Linked DNA regions of Homo sapiens: all the other regions are linked to region 1. Evidence: promoter capture Hi-C in human tissues and cell types (Jung and others, 2019). All regions are on one chromosome and are shown on one strand. The core of a region is centred on a gene start or on the middle of the fragment in contact, and the rest is flanking DNA. Distances in the headings are between cores, read along the strand shown. Region 1 holds the start of COL6A1 (collagen type VI alpha 1 chain). Region 2 overlaps PCBP3 (poly(rC) binding protein 3). Region 3 has its middle 27 kb from the start of COL6A2-DT.

Region 1 (2,809 bases), core at 215-2,714:
GAGTCGGGGACCTTCAGAACGTGGGATCCAGGACCCAGGTAGAGGCTCTCACTGCCCACGGAACAAACCAGGGTCCAGGTGGTTAGTGAGGGGCTCCCGCGCACCAGGCAGGACTGCGTGTCTGGGCCAGTGCGCTGAGCCCTCTCGGTCAGCCTGCGGGAGCCTCTCTTCCCTACATCTCAGCCTCACTGTCACCTCGGCCCTGCTGAACAGGTGCCACCCCCGCGAGCAGGGTCTCAAACCAGCTCACTCTGGAAGGCGCTGGGAGAGGCTCAGACCAGCTCACTCTGGAGGGCGCCGGAAAGGGCCCCGGCCTCACTCTGGAGGGCGCCGGGAGGGGCCCCGGTCAGGGCAACGCTCGCCCAACCTTAGGAGGTTGAGGCCGTCGCACCCGTGTTCCCCTGGGCCCCCACCCCTCCCTCCAAGAGGCCCAGAAGCACAGGAGGAAGGTCACGGGGCGTCCCTCCTACCTGTCCCTCAGGTTGTCGATGAAGCGCTTGGTGAAGGACTTGACTTTGTCCACGAGGGCCCCGTAGGGCTTCAGCCTCAGGGCCACGCTCTCAGAGGTGTCCAGCACAAAGAACAGGTCCACGGGGCAGTCTGGCCGAAGATGGAGGAGAGGGGCCTTCAAGCTCTCGCCCCATTCCCCGAGTCTCTGCTGGGCCTGCCCTCCCGGCCAGCCCAGCGCCTGCAGCACAGAGCCCCGGGCCCGGAGAGGCTCTCCCGGGAAAAGGCAGCAGGACGTCCCTCGGTGGGGACGGTGGGGAGGGGGTGGAGTGAGAGACCCCAAACCGCTCCTGTGCCTCGAGGGGAGTCAGAAACCTTCACAACCTCCCCCGAAGGGCAGGGCGTCCCCGGCACGGGACCGGACAAGTGAGACCTCACGGGAAGGTTTCTCGCTGGATTCAGAACCAGCAGCGCACGACTTCTTCTAGAACGGGGGTCGGGGGGGCCGTGCGTCTGGACTCACTGCCAGGTGAGGGGTCAAACGGATTCACGGGGCGCCGAGACAGCCCCGCACCAGCTCCCCCTCGCCAGGGAGCCCCTCCCGAGCTGCCTGCGGTCCGGCCCCGCTGAGAATGCTGAATGCTGAGCCTCTAGGGGCCCCGGCCAAGGCCCGGTGGGGCAGAGCTGGGCGCTGCAGCCGCCCCGAGCGGGGAGTGGGGTTCAGGGGCTCCAGGCCCCCAGTCTGCAGTTCCACGCGTGGGAGGGGACCCCGCGCATCTGGCCCTGGCCGGCAGCAAAGAGCGGGGGGTCTGGAGCCTGCACCCCAAGCCACCACTCACCCTGGAAGGCCACGGCCCTCGGGGTCTCCGGCTCATCCTGCGCGGCTGTCCAGCAGGCCTGCAGCAGCAGGGGCAGCAGAGCACGGGCCGCCCTCATGTCTGGGGCCTGCGGTCACCACACAGCGCGGCCAGGGCAGAGTGGGCCGCCGCCGCCGCCCAGAGACCGAGGCTGCCTTCTGCTCCCAGCCAGAGTGAGAGCGGAGGGCAAGGAGGGGAGGGGCGGGGCGAGAGGGGCGGGAGGGGAGGGGAGGGGCGGGAGGGGAGGGGAGGGGCGGGGCGGGAGGAGAGGGGAGGGGAGGGGAGGGGCGGGAGGAGAGGGGAGGGGCGGGAGGGGAGGGGCGGGGCGGGAGGGGAGGGGCGGGGCGGGGCGGGGAGGAGCGGCCCATGAGTCACCACCTCCTTGCTGGGGTCTCTCCCTCCAGAACCGGCAGCAGCTCCGAGCCCAGGGAGAAGGCGGTTTCCCTGGCTGGCTCGCCGCGGCCTGCAGTTCAGTTCCCGTGTCAGGGAGGAGGAAACTGCAGCAGCTGAATCAAACGTCTGAAAACCAGCGTGTCACCCAGGGAGAGTTCCTTGAAACATCTTTCGGTAGTTTCCAATCCAGACGTCTCCATGCGGGACGCACGGGCAGGCTCACTCGCCTCTTCCCACCAACCGCCTCCTGCAGAGGACCTCGCCGTGAGCTGAATTGTTGCTTTATCAGATCTCCGCGTTCTTTTTTCACGTCAATATTTCTTCACAGTATAGTCGGATACGTATTTGCCAAAGATATTTCAGTTTGTACCGTGGGAAGACAAAGTTGCTCACAATATAGTTGTTATATATGCTGTGTGTGGAGACAGAGAGACAGAGACAGAGAGACAGAGAGAGACAGTGAGAGAGAGACAGAGAGACAGAGACAGAGAGACAGACAGAGACACAGACAGAGGAGAGACAGAGACAGAGAGAGAGACAGAGACAGAGAGAGACAGAGAGACAGAAAGACAGAGAGAGACACAGAGAGACAGAGGAGAGACAGAGACAGAGAGACAGAGACAGAGAGACACAGAGAGACAGAGAGACAGAGAGACAGAGACAGAGAGAGAGACAGTGAGAGACAGAGACAGAGAGACACAGAGACAGAGAGACAGAGAGAGACAGAGACAGTGAGAGAGAGACAGAAAGACAGAGACAGAGAGACAGACACAGAGAGACAGAGGAGAGACAGAGACAGACAGAGAGAGACAGAGACAGAGAGAGACAGAGAGACAGACAGAGAGAGACAGAGAGAGAGACAGAGACAGAGACACAGAGAGAGGAGAGACAGAGAGAGACAAAGACAGAGACAGAGAGACAGAGACAGAGAGAGACAGAGAGGAGAGACAGACAGAGACGGAGAGACAGAGACAGAGAGACAGAGACAGAGAGACAGAAAGAGAGACAGAGAGAGGAGAGAGGGGCTGTCCCTGATATCACCTGGGGGTGGGCTCCAGATGTGGCCAGATGCATCCCTGGCCCACAGAAGGTCCCAGAAGAGCTTTCCCAAA
Region 2 (2,809 bases), core at 172-2,671, 99 kb after region 1:
TAAAATAAAATTCCAAAAAAATGTACACTGACTCACAGGAAGAAAGAAAAAACTAAAACCAGAGAAACAAAAAACAAAGCCAACAAAATTAAAAATGAGGCTGGGTGCGATGGCTCACGCCTGTAATCCCAGCACTTTGGGCGGTCAAGGTGGGAGGATCACTTGAGCCCAGGAGTTCAAGGCCAGCCTGGGCAACACAGGAATACCTAGTCTCTACAAAATATAAAAATAAATTGGCTGGGCATGGTGGTGCATGCCTGTGGTCCCAGCTGCTTGAGAGGCTGGGGTGGGGGGATCACTTCAGCCCAGAAGAGGCTGCAGTGAGCCATGATCACACTACTGCACTCCAGCCTGGATGACAGAGTAGGGCCCTATCTCAAAATAAATAAATACAAAAGATAAATAAAAGGTGAAATGGCAGATTTAAGCCCTAACATCTCAATACCGTAATAACTTTAAGTATAAATGGTCCAAATACACCAATTGAAGCACAGATGGGCAGAGTGGATTTAAAAATATGACCCCATCATATGCTGTCTACAGAAAACTCACTTCAAATAGAACAATATAAGCAAACTGAAGATAAACTAATGGGAAAAGGCGTATCGTGCAACCATTAATCAAAAGAAAGCAGGAATGGCTATATTAATATCGGAAAAAATAGACGTCAGAGCAATGAAAATGATCAGAGACAGAGAAGGACATTACATAATGATAAAAGAGTCTAAATAAGCAATAGCAATCCTAAATGTGTATGAATCAAATAACAGAGCTGTAAAATATGTGAAGCAGAAACTAATAGTAGTGAAAAGAAAAATATAAAAATCCACAACGACAGCTGAAGACTTTATTACTGTCAACAACTGAAAGAACCACTGGGCAGAGAATTAGCAAAGGATTTGGAAGGACTCAACACCATCAACCAACGGGGCCTAACGAACACTTCCGGAACACTCTGTCCAGCATCAGCAGAATCCACACTCTCTTCCTGCATGTACAGAATCTATACCAGGATAGACCATACCCTTGGCCATAAAAGAAACCTCAGCAAATTTAACAGAATTGAAACCGTAGTGTATGTTCTCTGACCACAGCTGACTCAAACCAGAATCAATCATGGAAAGATAACAAGAAAAGTTCCAAGCACTTGGAAATGAAACACATATATGAACAATCCAAGGGTCAAAGAGGGAATCTCAAGGAACATCAAAAAACACATTGACCTGAATGAAAATAAAAACACAGCATATCAAAAATCGCAGGACACAACTACAGCAGTGCTGAGAGGGAAACCTGTGGCACGAAACACACACATTTGAAGAGAGAAAAGCTTCCAATCAATAATCTAAGCACTCATTTTAAGAATCTAATAAAAGAAGAACAAAATAAATCCAAGTAAGCAGAGGAATGAAATACTAAAGACCAGAACTTGGCGCTGGTGTAAGAACGACATGCAGGCCGGTGGAGGAGAGCGGAGAGCCTGGCAGGAAACCCCGCAGCTGCAGCCAATCCATCTACAATAAAGACACCAGGAACACACACGGGGAAGGACAGTTTCTTCAATAAACGGTGTTGGGGAAACTGGATGTCCCTGTGCAGAAGAATGAAATTAGACCCTCATCTCACACCATCTATAAAAATCAACTCAAAATGGGTTAAAGACTTAAATGTAAGATCTGCAACTGCAAAACCACTAAGAAAAAACACAGGGAAAAATTCCACGACACTGGTTTAGTTAATGATTTTTTTTTAAATATGGCCCTCAAAGTACAGGCAACAAAAGCAGAAAGTAGAGAAATGGGATTATATCAAACTGAAAAGCTTCTGCACAGCAAACAACAGAGTGAAGAGACAACCTAGGGAACTGGAAAAAAAACTGCAAACCATACAACATCTGATAAGGAGTTAATACTCAAAATGTGTAAGGAACTCAAACAACTCAATAGCAAGAAAACAAATACCAGATTTTAAAAAAATGGCAAAGAAACGGAATGGAAGCTTCTCAGAAGGAGACATACAAATGGCTAACAGGTATATGAAAAAGTGCACAACATCACTAATCACCAGAAAAATGCAAATTCAAACCACAATGGGATATCGGCTCATACCTGTTAGAATGGCTATTATCAAAAAGACAAAAGCTAAGTGTTGGTGAGGAGGTGGACAAAAGGGAACCCTTGTACAGTGCTGATGGGAAACTTAGTACAGTCATTATGGAGAACGGTACGGAAGTTCCTCAAAAAACTAGAAATAGAACCACCACAGGATCCAGCAGTCTCACTTCAGGGCATATACCCAAAGTCACTATAGTGAGGAGACACATGCAGGCCCGTGTTGATTGTGGCACAACTCACAACAGCCTAGATATGGTGGAATCAGCCTAAGTGTTCATAGAGAGACGAACGGATAAAGAAAATGTCACACACAGACATACACACAGAAAGAAGCCATGTCATCTGTGTCACTGCGGATGAACCTGGAGGACATTATAACAAGTAAAATGAACTGGGCACAGAAAGACAAATACTGCATGATCTCACATGTGGAATCTAAAAAAGTGCATCTCACAGAAGCAGAGGGTGGGAGGTGGCTGTCGGGGACTGCGGGGGGTTGGGGGAAATGGGAGCTGTTGGTCACTGGCACAAGTTCAGTTAGACGGGAGTCAAACAGGCTGGGGAGCTGCTGTGTGGCACAGTGACTATGGGTAAGAACAATGTATACTTGAAAATTGCTGAGAGTGATTTTAAATTCTTTATAGAGATGGGGTCTCTCTATGTTGCCTAGGCTGTTGCCTGAGGTAGGCAGGTCA
Region 3 (2,809 bases), core at 84-2,583, 89 kb before region 1:
GAGAGATTACAGCTGCAAATCCTAAATTCAGGATACTTACAGAAGCAGAGGCTGACGCTCACCTTGTCATTCTAGCAGAAACTAAACATTGTCACTGGTTTATACATCTGTGATGCCACCAGCCTGCGTATTTGGTAACAGTGAAGCCGCATTATGATTCAAAAGAGATCCTCTCCCACTTCACCCACCACTCAAGTGGTTAGGACTGTGTATCAGTAAGAACTATGCTTTTTGGGGAAAAAAAGAAAGTTAATCTTCATTTTGGCGTATGAAGAGGTGAGGCCTTCTCCACCACCATGAGCAGGTTAGCGCCTTATAAAAGGGCGGGGGGAGCCTGCGTGTGCCTTTTGCTTTTCTGCTGCCATCTGAGGACGTGGCACTTGTCCCTTTTCCCCTTTTCATTCTTCCCACCGTGTGAGGACCCCCAGGCAGCACCTTCCATGAGAAATGGGCCTTTGCCCATTCACTGAACTTGCAGGGGCCTTGATGTTGGACTTCCCAGCCTCCAGAGCTGTGAGAAAATAAAGTTTTGTTATTGATAAATTACCCAGTCTCAGGTATTTTGTTATAGCAACACAAGCAGACTAAGAAAATTCCTCTCCTTCTATTCATGAACTTACAAAAATCATGTTCACAAGTGGGCAGAGCTGTGGCCAGAGCCCAGGACTTCTCACTCTGACTCCAGGGCTCTCTTCACGTCACTGCTTGCCTTTTGTTGGCTGGAGCGCTGTGATCTCAGCTGCTCGGGGGTCCAGGGGCTCATGGAGAGTTTGGCTCCTGCCCCTCCTCTGTGGGTTCCTCCACGCACTTGTCCTCTTGTCCTCTCTTGACTCTGCAGGGCTTCACCACCACCTAGCGTGAGCCACACCCACGGAAATCCATGCCTTCCTCCCAGGTGCCAGGTTCTCAGGGTCTCTCGTTAACGAGAGACCCTGCAGAGGCGTGCAAGCCCACCCAGGGAGCAGATGCCCATGTTATCAGTGCCTTCGGTCCCGAGAGGGGTTCACACTGAGGATGAAGGCGTTCAGGCCTGTGGCAGGGAAGGTATTTGGGGCAGTTGCTCTTTCATGGAATCGCAGAGCAGGTTCACCTGCACAGCCCTGGCACCTTCTTGCTTCCAAATCCACAGCGCCTTAGCGAAATACAAGCTCATCCAGTCCTCAAAGAGTGTTAACTTTCCACCAACAGGTGTACTTTTAAAAAAGAAGGGTGCCGCCAACCTAAAAAGACACGGCCCACAATGAGCCATCTGAAAGATGACTGGAGGCTCTGCTTTTAAAGAAGTTGTCAATCAGTCGATCAGCAAGCCAGCCTTCTGTTGCAGACGAAGAAATGCAGGAGCTTCTGGACATGCTGAGAGCGCACATGAGTGGCCAAGAGAAAGGCGGGCTTTGGAGGGGTCCTTGCTAACTCCTTCAGGCACTAATTTCTTTTTTTCTTTTTCTTTTCTTTTTTTTTTTTTGAGACTGAGTTTCACTCTGTTGCCCAGGCTGGAGTGCAGTGGCGCGATCTCGGCGCACTGCAACCTCTGCCTGCTGGGTTCAAGTGATTCTCGTGCCTCAGCCTCCCAAGAAGCTGGGATTGCAAGTGTGCATCATCACACCCGGCTAATTTTTGTATTTTTTAAGTAGTAAGTTAAACATGGGGTTTCACCATGTTGGCCAGGCTGGTCTTGAACTCCTCACCTCAAGTGATCCACCAGCCTCAGCCTCCCAAAGTGCTGGAATTATAGGCATGAACCACCGTGCCTGGCCTTTTGGGCATTAATTCTTGAAGCCACTGAATTAATCGTTGGCACATTTATTCAATTTAATCCGGCATTTCTGATGCTTGAACTTTACCATGTACCAAATGGTTACCCTTTTCCCTCCATGTAGTCGGGGAAGCAGTCTGTGAATTTTCCAATCATTCATTTGTTCCTTTATTACACACTCAGACAACAATTATTGAACACCTTTTCTGGGCCATGCCCCCTCTCGGGTCCTGCAGAGGTGCCAGTGAGAAGGACGTGCAGGGCCCTGCCCGCTGGGCTGGCCTATGACCTGTGTGACCCTCTTGCCCCTGCCACCTTTCCCAGGGTGCCGTGCTCCGCCAGCCTCCACGGCTCCCTGCAGGCCAAGCGCCTCTGGCCGCCCCCTCAGCTCGGCCCTGGGGGTAAGCGCTGCCATCTGGTCTCTATTATTTGGGGCCTCAGCGTCCCATGGATGCTAGCAAGCTTGGCTCTGCGGCCCCTACCTCTGCGGCCTACAGAAAGTGCCATCGCTGAGGGTCTGAGGGGAGCCCCCCACACCAGTGCGTCTGTGATGGCCTCGGAGAGGCTGTGTGCTCCGAGCCACCATGTGCTGCATCACCCTCTGGTTGACTTTCTGGATTCATTTGTTTCTCACGAGGTACAATTCTGAAAATGCTTCACGTGAATTCCAGGGTCGAACAGATCAGTAAGGAGACGGTGGGTGGCATGAAGCAGGTTTCTCCTGACTGGAGAGGAAGCGTTAGACACACAGGGAAGGAAGGCGAGAATGAGCCCTGTGGTACCGACTTAGAGTTGGAGTTGTCACTGCGAAGGCACGTTCAGCACTCCCCCCACCCCCACAATGCACACACACCCAGTCACACATGCATATACATGTGTGTGCATACACACACACCCAGGCACACATGCACACACACGCACATGCACACACCCAGACACACATGCACACACACGCACATGCACACACACACAGGCACACAGGCACACAAGCACACACATGGACTTGCACACACATGCACACACACCCAGGCACACATGCTCACACACGAGTGCACA

Evidence for each region. The method cuts DNA at HindIII sites, captures the fragments that hold promoters and counts their contacts. A contact is called where the count stands out against the background at its distance.
Region 2: a contact is called between a fragment that was not itself captured here and the fragment with the promoter of COL6A1 in region 1, in 3 of the 25 tissues and cell types used here (lymphoblastoid cells, mesenchymal stem cells and mesendoderm cells).
Region 3: a contact is called between a fragment that was not itself captured here and the fragment with the promoter of COL6A1 in region 1, in 5 of the 25 tissues and cell types used here (H1 embryonic stem cells, heart left ventricle, mesenchymal stem cells and 2 more).

What each region holds. Positions count from the first base shown.
Region 1 is chr21:45,980,425-45,983,233 of GRCh38, reverse strand. It overlaps COL6A1 (collagen type VI alpha 1 chain), which reads right to left and starts at 1,464. Exons shown (of 35, transcript NM_001848.3): 1 at 1,287-1,464; 2 at 471-600. The coding sequence starts at 1,383. It overlaps LOC105372841 (a long non-coding RNA gene), which reads right to left. Exons shown (of 3, transcript XR_937803.3): 3 at 1,668-1,944. RefSeq lists enhancers at 1-843, 844-1,706. The HindIII fragment of the contact is 42,283 bases long and covers 1-2,809 here.
Region 2 is chr21:45,881,525-45,884,333 of GRCh38, reverse strand. The region is part of intron 5 of PCBP3 (poly(rC) binding protein 3); the gene reads right to left. Among named protein-coding and RNA genes, the nearest start is that of PCBP3-AS1, 47 kb to the right of the region's middle. The HindIII fragment of the contact is 4,995 bases long and covers 1-2,809 here.
Region 3 is chr21:46,069,361-46,072,169 of GRCh38, reverse strand. It overlaps the pseudogene PSMA6P3. Among named protein-coding and RNA genes, the nearest start is that of COL6A2-DT, 27 kb to the left of the region's middle. The HindIII fragment of the contact is 8,195 bases long and covers 1-2,809 here.